3 separate regions of the Homo sapiens genome follow, and regions 1 and 2 are each linked to region 3. Evidence: promoter capture Hi-C in 16 types of primary human blood cells and fetal thymus (Javierre and others, 2016). All regions are on one chromosome and are shown on one strand. Each heading gives the region's core, a stretch centred on a gene start or on the middle of the fragment in contact. The rest is flanking DNA. Distances are from core to core; before and after follow the strand shown. Region 1 overlaps BCAS3 (BCAS3 microtubule associated cell migration factor). Region 2 overlaps BCAS3 (BCAS3 microtubule associated cell migration factor). Region 3 holds the start of TBX2 (T-box transcription factor 2).

Evidence for each region. The method cuts DNA at HindIII sites, captures the fragments that hold promoters and counts their contacts. A CHiCAGO score of 5 or more calls a contact.
Region 1: a contact is called between a fragment that was not itself captured here and the fragment with the promoter of TBX2 in region 3, in 2 of 17 cell types (M1 macrophages and naive CD4 T cells). The highest score is 6.4, in M1 macrophages.
Region 2: a contact is called between a fragment that was not itself captured here and the fragment with the promoter of TBX2 in region 3, in 6 of 17 cell types (M1 macrophages, endothelial precursors, megakaryocytes and 3 more). The highest score is 7.7, in M1 macrophages.

The regions. Positions count from the first base shown.
Region 1 is chr17:61,057,359-61,061,232 of GRCh38, forward strand. All of the region lies in intron 19 of BCAS3 (BCAS3 microtubule associated cell migration factor), which reads left to right. All of the region lies in intron 4 of BCAS3-AS1 (BCAS3 antisense RNA 1), which reads right to left. Among named protein-coding and RNA genes, the nearest start is that of BCAS3-AS1, 77 kb to the right of the region's middle. The HindIII fragment of the contact is 2,533 bases long and covers 1,292-3,824 here.
Region 2 is chr17:61,037,720-61,042,008 of GRCh38, forward strand. It overlaps BCAS3 (BCAS3 microtubule associated cell migration factor), which reads left to right. Exons shown (of 24, transcript NM_017679.5): 18 at 170-335; 19 at 3,073-3,173. All of the region lies in intron 4 of BCAS3-AS1 (BCAS3 antisense RNA 1), which reads right to left. Among named protein-coding and RNA genes, the nearest start is that of BCAS3-AS1, 96 kb to the right of the region's middle. The HindIII fragment of the contact is 296 bases long and covers 2,543-2,838 here.
Region 3 is chr17:61,397,297-61,401,643 of GRCh38, forward strand. TBX2 (T-box transcription factor 2) reads left to right here and starts at 2,547. Exons shown (of 7, transcript NM_005994.4): 1 at 2,547-3,275. The coding sequence starts at 2,881. It overlaps TBX2-AS1 (TBX2 antisense RNA 1), which reads right to left and starts at 2,310. Exons shown (of 2, transcript NR_125751.1): 1 at 1,943-2,310. RefSeq lists an enhancer at 1-383, promoters at 1,504-2,764, 2,384-2,631 and a cis regulatory region at 2,620-2,631. The HindIII fragment of the contact is 11,976 bases long and covers 1-4,347 here.

The sequences.
Region 1 (3,874 bases), core at 1,308-3,807, 340 kb before region 3:
TACAGATTTGTGACTGCTCCAGTGTAAGTTTATATATGACAGGGCCTTTACTTAGGAAACAGGAAATCCAGACACTGATGGTTTTGACTTCCTTCACATTGTTACCTTGAGTGAGTCATTGCCTTCTACGCCTCAGGTTTCTCATCTTTATAATTAAGGGTGTGAAAATCTTTTTCAACTTTCAGATTTGGGGAGATCCCTGCCCTAGAATCTCGTAACTTGTCCAGAAACTCATGAAAATTCAGACCCAAGACATGTTAAAAGAGGAGGAAACAAGCAGCTAGGACACCTGAAGTCAAGGTCTTTGTCTTGTTACTTTTTTTTTTTTCACATTTTATGTAGCAACAGGATTTTCTAATAGTTTGCAAATAATTCCTGATTATACAATAGTAGAAACAAAGCAGCCTGTGCTATTCTTTATGGAAAATGTATGTTTCATAAACATTTTTAAGCGATCTTTTTGAATTATTTCTTATTTCCAAGAATACCTAGAAATCCCTTCTTTCTTCAAATTAATGTATATATGATTTTAGTTTTTCCTATATGTTTTAATACTTTGTTTTAAATTATAGTCTTGTGTCTTTAGCATAGCTACTTTTTTTTTATATTGAAGCCTCTTTTAGCTGCTGATTATGAAGCTAACATATTTAATATTATTTTTGTTTCTGGAGTTCTGACTGTTCCATTTATCAAAAGTTTTAATTTTGCTTTGATAGTGTATAAGCTCTTATCATTACTGAGTTTCTCTTTCTTTGAAAAAATTTTTCTCTCTTGATTTTTCTTACTGAAAGTAACCAGCCCAGTAACCGAGGCATAAGGTTGGTGGGTGAGTGCCACAGATTGTCTCTCTGCAGCTTCAGTCTCTTCTTCCCCTTATTGTTGTCATAGGATAGGAGACTTTTGGCCATATGATTCTGTGGAACTTGGCAGGGGACCAGAAACACCATATTGCCTTCAGTGCCTTTATGCCATCAGTTTCTTGTCTTTTATACTACGCTTTCTTTGTATTTTATGACTTTGTGAAGAACATCTGTAACAACCCTATATGATGTGAAATCTGGTCAAAGCTGAGATTTGGGGATTTTTTGAGGATAGCGTTTTTTTCTTTTCTTGGTCACTCGGCTGATTTCTGTGCTCTTTTCTAGATGCTAGCATGTCATCCGTGGTTGCATCATGTACACCTTTAAATATGAAACCAACAAACCAGTATTTTCTACGATGAAAAATTTTAATCAGAGGTATTATAGTGTATGTAAAGTAGCACTTTGATTGTTTCTCTCACTGCATGTGAAGCTTCCTTCAATGTCTGTAACCTTGTGTTGTGACTTCTGGTTAAAGTAATTTTTCCCCATTGTTTGATCACAGTATAGGTATCTCTGATCAGGATACATAACTGTTTATTATGATTATAGAAAAGATTATATTAAGTGAAGCAGACATTGAATAGACAAACAACAGACTCTCAATCAATGATATAATTGACGTTTGGGGATAAAAATCTCTTACATGTTTTATATGATAAATTTAACTTAAAATAATGAACTTAGTAGGTAATGAAGTGATAAATTGAGGTGAGGTGATTTTGCTTAAGGTGAAGAATGTGATCTTTAGAGTCAGCAGTCCTGAATTTGAACTCTGTCTCTGCTACTTGCTATCTGTACAGCTTTAGGCAGATAACCTCCCCGAACTCTTTTTTCTCCCCATCTTTTTTTTTTTTTTTTTTTTTTTTTTTTTTTTTTTTTGAGACAGAGTCTCGTTCTGTTGCCCAGGCTGGAGTGCGGTGGCACAATCTCGGCTCGCTGCAAGCTCTGCCTCCTGGGTTCACACCATTCTCCTGCCTCAGCTTCCCGAGTAGCTGGGACTACAGGCGCCCGCCATCACGCCTGGCTAATTTTTTGTATTTTTAGTAGAGATGGGGTTTCACTGTGTTAGCCAGGATGGTCTTGATCTCCTGACCTCATGATCCGCCTGCCTTGGCCTCCCAAAGTTCTGGGATTACAGGCGTGAGCCACTGCACCTGGCCTCTCCCCGTCTTTAAAATGGGTATTAATAATACCTACCTTACAGGATCATTGTTAGATAATATGAGATAATTGATCCAAAAAGGCTTACCCAAGAGCTTGGATAGAAAAAAGAAACTCACTAATGATAGCTGGTGGTTGTACTTAGTTGTGTGAGAATGAATACCCTTCTTCCGTGAGGTCTTTCTTGCTTCTCATGATTCCACCTACTTTATGACAGATACTGCCAGGTGGCACAGGTGAACATACTTTGTTGTGAAGAGAAAGCGTTTGTATTATATCTCCTCTGATCTTCAGTGGTCAGCTGGACAAGTATGGCTCTAATATTGGGCACATTTTCAAAGCTATAGAAAGAAATTTTACTGGCTGGGCACGGTGGCTCACACCTGTAATCCCAGCACTTTGGGAGGCCAAGTTGGGCAGATCGCTTGAGTCCAGGAGTTCTAGACCAGCCTGGCCAACATGGTGAAACCCTGTCTCTACTAAAAACACAAAAATTAGCCGGGCGTGGTGGCGCGTGCCTGTAATCCCAGCCACTCGGGAAGGCTGAGGCAGGACAATCTCTTGAACCTAGGAAGGAAGGAAAAAATGAGTGGGAAAGAGAGAAAGTGAAAATGAAAGAAAGAAGGGAGTGAGGAAGGAAGAAAATGCAGGGGAAAAGAACTACCTCACTTTGTTATACAAGATGAAAATAAAATGGTATACAGTAATGAAAGTAAACCAGACCTAAATATATTTTTTTTATTATTTTTATTTTTATTTTTTGAGACAGAGTCTTGCTCTGTCGCCCAGGCTGGAGTGCAGTGGCGCAATCTTGGCTCACTGCAAGCTCCCCCTCCCAGGTTCACGCCATTCTCCTGCCTCAGCCTCCTGACTAGCTGGGACTACAGGCGCCCACCACCACACCCGGCTAATTTTTTTTTTTTTGTGTATTTTTAGTAGAGACGGGGTTTCACCGTGTTAGCCAGTATGGTCTCGATCTCCTGACCTCATGAGCCACCCCGCTTGGCCTCCCAGAGTGCTGGGATTACAGGCGCGAGCCACTGCGCCCGGCCACCAGACCTAAATGTATTAACATGGATGATACATATAGTGTTATGTGGGAAAAAAAACCTGTTCTAGAAAAGTATTACTATGATTTTTTAAATTATCACTCACTGAATGATCCTGAATACTTCATGTATTCCACACCCTAGCCAAGAAGAGTCAAGATGACTCTCTGTCAGTCTGCAGGTCAAGAAATGGTTGTTCAATCTTTTGAAACATTCATAAAATAGTTTTTAAAAAAATTATTGGAGAAACGTTAGACGTACATAGTACACAGTTAGTTGTATAAGGAATCTACCAATTACCAAGTTTCAACAATTTACAACATTCTACCACAAAGTATCCTAAGAAAGTCATTCACTATTGTGTCTTTTTACCCATGATTCTTCACTATACATCTGATTATAAAGACTTTTTAAAGATCACAACTCCCCACCATTACGTAAAACAGGTGAGGCAGGGACAGTGATTTGTGGAGATCTCTGTTTAGTAGTTTGACGTTGTGGAGTAGGCAAGGAAGATCAAGCCTGGAAAATGCTCTTCTTACTTTTGGAAAGTTAAAGAAAACCCTGCAGTAGTTGTGGGCTTGTGTTCTCTGTCTCATGCTTTCCCCTATCCTCTCGGTTTTGAGAATTTTCTGATTAATTTAGAGTTAAAATATGGAAAACATCATGAATGCTTAATGATCATTTAAGAAGATTTTAGATTATTTTCCTAACTATAGGGTGAAAATGTTTGGTGCCTTCCAGGTCTAAAAGCTTTTGTCTCTCCATGCCAGGGCAACTTTGCCTCTTTTGCTTAGGCAA
Region 2 (4,289 bases), core at 1,441-3,940, 360 kb before region 3:
AGAGCAAAACTCCATCTCCAAAAAAAAGAAAAAAAGAAAAAAATTCCTGTCTTTTCATTTTCTCTGAGCAGCCTCAGGAGCAGACTAATAAGATCATTAACTTGTAAAAATTATTCTGTGCTCCATTTATGCCATCATAACACATCGGGTTCTGTTTCTCTGTTTGTAGATCAGTCCAAACAAGTTGTAGTTGAGTCCCTGTACATTATCAGTTGCTATGGCACCTTAGTGGAACACATGATGGAGCCGCGACCCCTCAGCACTGCACCCAAGATTAGTGACGACACACCACTGGAAATGATGACATCGCCTCGAGCCAGCTGGACTCTGGTTAGGTAGTACCTCTTTTCTTTTTTTCTTTTTAACAGCTTCATTAAGGTATAGAAGATTAAAAGCGTATAATTTGATAAGTTTTGACATGCATACAGCTACGAAATCATCACCACAATTAACATGGTAAACAAATACATCACTCTCAAATGTTTCTTGGTGACCCTTTGTAATCTCTCCTTCTTTCACCCCCTTTGTCTCTACAGATTAGTTTACAGTTTCTAGAATTTTTTTTTTTTTTTTTTTGAGACGGAGTCTCACTCTGTCACCCAGGCTGGAGTGCAGTGGCGCGATCTCAGCTCAAGCGATTCTCCTGCCTCAGCCACTTGAGTAGCTGGGACTACAGGCACACGCCACCACACCTAGCTAATTTTTTTGTATTTTTATTAGAGACGGAGTTTCACCATGTTGGCCAGGATGGTCTCGATCTCCTGACCTCGTGATCTGCCCGCCTCAGCCTCCCAAAGTGCTGGAATTACAGGCGTGAGCAACCGTGCTGGCCCAGTTTCTAGAATTTTATATAAATGGAATCATATAGTATGTAATTTCTTAAATCTCACTTTCATCTAGCAAAACAAACAATACTTCATTCCTTTTTTTTGTTTTGTTTTTGTTTTTGTTTTTTTTTTTTTTTTTTTGGAGACAGTCTCGCTCTGTTGCCCAGGCTGGAGGGCAGTGGCACGATCTCAGCTCACTGCAGCCTCCACCTCCCGTGTTCAAGCGGTTCTCCTGCCTCAGCCTCCTGAGTAGCTGGGACCACAGGCGCCTGCCATCCCATCTGGCTAATTTTTAGTAGAGATAGGGTTTCACCATGTTGTCAAGGTTGGTCTCATACTCTTGACCTCAGGTGATCCACTCGCCTTGGCCTCCCAAAGTGCTGGTTTTATAGGGATGAGCACCTGGCCTTTCATTACTTTTTCATTTGACATAATTTACATACAATAAAATTAACCCATTAAAAGTGACTTTTCACAAAGTTGTGCACTTATCACTGCAATCAGTTCTCATCACCCTAAAAAGAAACCTCATACTCATTAGCAGTCACTCCTTATTTTTCTCCAACCCTTCAGACCTAGGCAGCAGCCAGTTTACTTTCTTTCTCTATGGATTTTGCTACTCTGATCATTTCATGTAAGTGGAATCATATAATATGTGACCTTTTGTGTCTGGCTTCTTTCACTTAGCATATTTTCAAGATCTATCCATGTTGTAGCGTGTGTCAGAATTTCACTCCTTTTTATGGCTACATAATACTCCATTATATGGTTATACTGCATTTTGTTTATCCATTTATTAGTTGATGGATATTTCTACTTTTTAAGCTGTTATTAAATAATGTTGCTGTGAACATTCATGTACAGATTCTTGTGTGAACATTTTTTTTTTTTCCTGAGATGGAGTCTTGCTCTGTCACCTAGGCTGGAGTGCAGTGGCGTGATCTCGGCTCACTGCAAGCTCCACCTCCCAGGTTCACACCATTCTCCTACCTCAGCCTCCTGAGTAGCTGGGACTACAGGCACTAGCCACCACGCCAGCTAATTTTTTGTATTTTTACTAGAGACAGGGTTTCACTGTGTTAGTCAGGATGGTCTTGATCTCCTGACCTCATGATCCACCCACCTCGGCCTCCCAAAGTGCTGGGATTACAGGCGTGAGCCACCGCGCCGGCCCATGAACATATTTTTTTAATTGTCTTCTGTATGTACCTTGGAGAATACCTCTGTTTGAACTTATTTCCCCCTTGCACTTCTGTGTTAAATTTTCTTGGATTTATGCTTCCTCTATTTGCAATCTCATGCTCACCGAAAATAGAGAGTAACATTGAGATAGCCATTAAGGGGAATAGAAACTAATATAGATAGATTCAAAGGTTTCTCTGAAAGTAATTCTCCAAGATACAGTGGTTAAGCCTTATAGGAATGTTTATTAAGAATCAGAGTCCATCTCAAACGTGCATAATGATTAGAATCTTTATAAGCTATAACCAAAAGGAAAAAAAACCTGGAATAAAACCTCTTTAATATAGTTCATTGTCCAGGAAAGAAAAAATTGCTCCTGACATGTATGGAAGGAAACAGACAAAAATGGATATGAAAATGATCCCTGTCCTTTTGACATTTTAAAATATTCTTGTATTGATTTTTGGAGGCTCCAGCATTCTTTACTACTACTTTACTATGCTGGATTGATCTGATCAATATCTGATTTATCAAGCTTATTTAGGAGTGGGCAGATCTAATTAAAGTTACTACACTATCATTGTTGAAATAGTAACTTATTTCAGAACTCAGATGCTAATTTGATCTATAATAAGTCATCCATTTACACAGCTGTGTTTTATTAACCATTTTTACCTACTTCATTTTATTTTAAAATATACACATATTTTAAGAATAGAGAGGTCAGAAATTACATAAATTAGAACTAGTTAGTTGTAACATTTGAATTTTACACCTGTTTAATCTTCTGAATGTCTTGCCTATCCTGTTGGAGGGTCTTCTGCTGTTAAGCTTATATTGACTGCATGTTATTTGTATGAAAGACTGCCACCTTTTTATTTTTTCTAAGCAGATGGCCTTGTGTTTCAGGTTTCATCACATTCATTTTAATGATTACAAGTTCATTTTAATGATCACAAAAGTAGTGTGAGTTTAAGTCACTGTTCATAAGTGATGACAGTCATGGTGATTTACATCCCATCTATTAAGCTTAAATATTAATATTCTTCTCCTGTTTCCTTAGAACCCCTCAATGGAATGAATTGCAGCCACCGTTTAATGCAAACCACCCTCTGCTCCTCGCTGCAGATGCAGTACAGTATTATCAGTTCCTGCTTGCTGGCCGTAAGTAGTTCAGATTTTTTTTTTCCTTTCGTATGGTCTATTCAGATTTCATCTTAAAATGCTAGCTTTGAAAGCAAACATTACCACTGGTCCATAGGCCATGGGCCTTAAAGAATCAGTTTGAGGCAAATAAGATATTTAATATGAATATAAACTGTAAGCCTTAGTATACATTATGTCTCTGACTGCTTATATTCTTTACCTATGAAATATATTTCTGTAATAAAAGTTAAGTTGATAGGGAATATCTGGAGGGCTCAAAAATTCAAACAAACATAAAAACCACCACCTGAAAATGCTAGGATATAATAAAAAGTTTCATAAAGCTTGGAATCTGTTTCTAACATGGAAAAAAAAAAACCCCAAAACTTAGCACAGTTAAAAGTGCAACTATGAAAACAATGCCAGCAGGCTTTTCTTTTGGTAGAATTTTACTTGCAATAATGAGGTAAAGATTTCAACTACATTTGTTAATTTGTTTGTTTACTTATATGTTTAAGCGTGAGCATTTGTAGAGACTGAACCAAGTTCATTGACCTAGATAACAGCTTTTTATATGGGAGTCATTTAAAGGCAATTTAGTATTTATTATCCAGTTTGCGTTTATAGAATTAAAAATTATTTACAATTATAATTCAGTTTTGTAGATATAGACAGAATCCTTAATTTAATTTGATGGCTCTGAGTAGTGCACGCTTTAAAGAAAATTCTTAAAAATCAACATTGACATGTTTTTAATGAAACTTTGTTGTATTTAACACATTGTCTTGCCCGGTATATTAGAAAGCATGAATTAAAATAGTTGTCGAATGATTTTATTTTATCTTTATAATGTGCTATATATTATACTGGAAACAGAAATATTTTATAGACTTTGCTCTCAAGTTATGAAACTCTATAACTGTAATCAATAGTTGGCAGTCTTGCTCTCTCATATTATTGTTGAACTCTCTGCTTTTTCTAGGGCATTTTTATTGAGTGCCTACTATGTGTGAGGCAGTTCTGATTTAAAGGTGATTAGTATATTGCTTCTCTCCTCAATGAATTCCCTAATTCAGGAGATAGACATTTAATAAAAAAGTAAAATAAAGTGGGGTAGGTGTGTCAGTGGAGGGT
Region 3 (4,347 bases), core at 1,297-3,796:
GCCCTCCCCCTCCAGCCCCGGGCGGCCCGCGAGGCGCCCCCCGGGGCCTCTTAAAGGAACACGCACACTCGGCCCCCGGGGCTCCGCCAGGGGAGGGGGTTCCTGGGAAGGGGGAGGGGGCCGGCCTAGGTGGGGGAGGGGCCCAGCGGAGGCCTCACGGCGCCGCTCCAGGGCCTCCCAGGCCTCCCCAGCGCCAGCTTTCGGTGAGCCTCGGGCATTCCTAGCTGGAGAGTTTGGCTGGGGGTCGCTACAGACTCTTCAGAGCGGCTGCAGCAGGACCTCAGGGTGATCGCGGGACCGCGGGGCGGGGCGAGTGGTGGGATCCTGGCCCGGACAGAGCCCCGGAAAGCCAGAGGGAAGGTCGGTGCCACTGTAGGTGGGGTCGCCGTCCCCAGATGCAGCCGCTGCACTGTCGCCGCCAGGTTTCTCGGTCAAATAACCCAGGCCTGAGTGTTTCAAACTCTTCAGGCCTCGGACCCCTGGACCAGCTATGGATGGACTAATGAAATGGACTAATGTCTAAAACGCACACATTTAGATGTACACATACTCTTACAAGGACAAAAGTATGTGTCTACACACACACACACACACACACACACACACACGCGCGCGCGCGCGCGCGCGACTTTGCGAATGTATTCACGGATTCCTAGGCCGGTACCTGGGTTCCCGGCTAAGGAAAGCTGCCCTGGTTATTATCTGGTCACCTCACCGGCTGCGCAAACGTGTCCACAACGGGTCCCTCCCCGAGAGGCCACATCTCGCCTAAGGTGGAGCCAGCAGGTATTTGCCTGTGGAAAACTGCAGTGGATCCTGCCCCGTCTGCGTAGACTGCGCAGCTCGGAGTCAAAGATTCGTTCTGGCCAGAGAGGAGGTACTAAGAGAGGTGCGACCTAGCCAAGAACGAGGTCGTGGAGAAAACCCTGTGGGGGCGGCGCTCACATATGCGGTGATGAGGAGTTGTGAGGGCCCTGGGGTCGGCCCCGAAAAGTAGGGATAACGGTCGCAGAGGCCATACTGCTTCCGCCGGTCCCGAATCCGCACTGCCAGGAGAGATCCGGCCTTCAAACGCTGCTCCCAACGTTCAACAACGAAGTGCCCTGCGACCGGTGTGCGCAGTGGGCGGGCGCCTGCATGGGTCAATGTTGGATGTACGCGCCCACCACGCGGTTGTACGGGTGGGAATGTCACCCGTGGCTAGTGCATGCTCTGTCTTTTCCTTCAGAAAACGACCTTCAGGAATCAGCCTGAGTGTTCGCGCCCGAGCCCGATTGGAAGCAGGTGCGTGGTCGCTTCACTCTCCCCGTGCACACCTTGAGTTATAGCTCTCGCTGCGCACAGAGGGCACCACACGGGGCCCGACACACACACACACACACACACACACACACACACACACACACACACCATCACTTCATGGGGGGGAAACTGAGGCTGCCGGAAGACAGAAAACGAAGACTGATCACAGAAGAGGGGGCTTCAATCACAGGTGCTCGCAGACACCCCAACTCCCTCACGCGTTACTCAGCACTCCTTAACTTAGGAGACGTGCGCTTCCGAGAGATGAGAAGAAACTAAAAAAGTGGTTGGCAGGGCGAAGAGAGGAAGCCGGTATTTCGGAAGAAGGAGACTTTCGTCTCCGGTACCGGATAGGGCGAAAATTCGTTGGGTCGCGGGTGGAGAATCCGGGGTCCGCCCGCGCGGTGCCGCCCTGTGCTCAGCGAAAGGTGCGCTCACCTTCCTGGCCCCGAGGATCCGCTCCTCCCGGCCGCTGGAAAGCTCAGGGCGGGGCCCGGGCCTGCGGAGAACTCCAGGTTCCTTCCGAGTCTTCCGGTGAAGGCGGGCGCGGGTAGGGGGTCCCCGCGTTTCCCCAGCGCAAGGCCGCGTCCCGCTCCCGCCCGCGCCGGCCCCAGCAGGGCTCGGCCATGGCTCCACTCACCAGCTCCCGCCACCTGGGATCCGCTCCCGGACCTCGGCCGCCCGAGCCTCCCGACTCGCCCGCCCACCGGCCTCGCTTTCCAGTGCCTGCTGTCTCTTTCCGGGGCGCAGGGACCCCCAGGCGGCGCCACGACCCGGAGCTGGGTCGGAGGCCAGGCTGGGGCTCGGGCCAGAGCGGCCGGGCCTCTGGGCGCGGGAGAAGGAGGGCGCCCCCTCTCCGCTCGGGGTCGTGTCAATGCTTTGCACTTGGGGCCGGCGTGCGGCTGCGGGTCCTTCCCCAAGGCCCCGGGACCCGGGCTCCCCTCGCCTCAGGCCCTTTCGGCGGGTCAGGTCGGCCCTCCGCGCTCTCCAGTCCGGCGCAGGCAGCCGCAGGCGCGGGCGGGCGGTGGGGGCCGGGGCAGGAGGAGGGGTCTCGGGGCCCGGCGGCCCGTCATTGGTTAATATTTTATTCTGTTGACATGTTTTCTTACTGCTGAGGCTTCCGACACCTTCTCCCAGGCCCCCCCTCCCGGCCGGAGCTTGGCCTGAGCTGTCAAAACCCCGCCCCCGGAGACCCACAATTGGTCCAAAAAGCGTAAAATCAGCAATCAAGGGGGGCCTGGCTCGTTAGCGCAGGGGATCCGAGCTGGGCAGGACATGTGAGATAGTCACAGTTTTCCAGAGATCACGACAAGATCTAACCAGTCGCGCGTGGTCCCCGGCGCCGGAGCGGGCCAGCTCAGCCCGGCCCAGCCCGGCCCCGCGCAGAGCCCCCGCCGCCCCCGCGCACAGAGCCGGGTGCCCCTTGCGGTGCGCCGGACGGGAAGCCCCGAGGAGCAGCTGCTGCGCCCGCCACCCGGGTCGTCCGTCCACCGCGCGCGCCGCCGCCCGGGCCGGGGGTCCGAGCCGCGCGCCCCCGGCCCCGGCCCCGGCCCCCGGGCGCCTGGGCCGGATGTCCCGATGAGAGAGCCGGCGCTGGCGGCCAGCGCCATGGCTTACCACCCGTTCCACGCGCCACGGCCCGCCGACTTCCCCATGTCCGCCTTTCTGGCGGCGGCGCAGCCCTCCTTCTTCCCGGCACTCGCGCTGCCGCCCGGCGCGCTGGCCAAGCCGCTGCCCGACCCGGGCCTGGCGGGGGCGGCGGCCGCGGCGGCGGCGGCGGCAGCAGCGGCCGAGGCGGGGCTGCACGTCTCGGCACTGGGCCCGCACCCGCCCGCCGCGCATCTGCGCTCCCTCAAGAGCCTGGAGCCCGAGGACGAGGTGGAGGACGACCCCAAGGTGACGCTGGAGGCCAAGGAGCTGTGGGACCAGTTCCACAAGCTAGGCACGGAGATGGTCATCACCAAGTCCGGGAGGTAGGGCTGCCGGCCGGCTGGAAGGCGCGCGGGCGGGCGGGCGGGCTGGGGCACGGGACTGCACGGATCAGAGCAGAGCTGGGGACTCCCGGCTCCCGGCTCCCGGCTCCAGGTTCTGGCCCTGACGCCACGCTTCGCTCCCACGGACAACCAAGTTGACTTTTCTCGTTTGGCACCGGAGCGATTTTTTTTTAAAACAAAAACGCTAAAATCCTCCGAATGAAATAAAACGAAAACATACTGCTAAAGAATAGCCCCAACCGTTCTGAGTCCCAGCGCAGAGGAGGCCCCGCGGCTTGGCCCTGGCGGTCTCCTCCGCCCCGCGCTCTCGCTCTTCTGCGTCCGGGTCCGTCTCCGAGCTCGGGGGAAATTCAGCCTCTCTCAGACTCTGCTCCGACCCCGAAGCCCCTAGTGGGACCTGGGCCCAGCTAACCCCACGCTGGTTGCTCGGTTCCTGGCAGCGAGCCCCGGGTCAGCCGAGCCCTCCGCCTCACCGGGCTGGGAGCCCTTTCTCCACCGCGGGCATCCGAGCCCTGGACGCATCCGCCGCCCCAGGCCTTAAAGCCTGAAGAAAGCCACAGCCCCGGCCCCTCCACCCTTCGACTCAGCCACCGAGAATCCAGGCCTCGGGTTCACCCTCTTCCCCCGAACTGCACGGCCAGGATGTCTTATCAGGCTCTGTAGCCCAGTTCCCAATACAAACACCCTCCAGATTTATTTCTGGGAGCTTCCGTCCCAAGTGGGTATTTCCCCTGAACGAATTTCGGGGAGATTAAGGAGAAGCGAGAATATTTCTAGAGGGCCTAGACTTCTCTCCTGGGCATCAGCTTTCATCTCAGATCAGGGAGAAAGAGGGTCCCCAGATCTGAGCACAAGGCCTAAAGGAGGCTGTTTAGGAGAGGGTCTGACAGGCAGAAATGGGATCTCCTGGGAGCAACAACCACAGGTGGGGTCGTCCGGGCAGTGATGAGAGGGCAGAGCAGCCGACCACAGGGGAAACAGCCAGGCGGCAGCGGTGTGCGCAACGAGGAGGGATAAATAAAGGAGGAGTGGGGTCCTGGAACCTAGAACA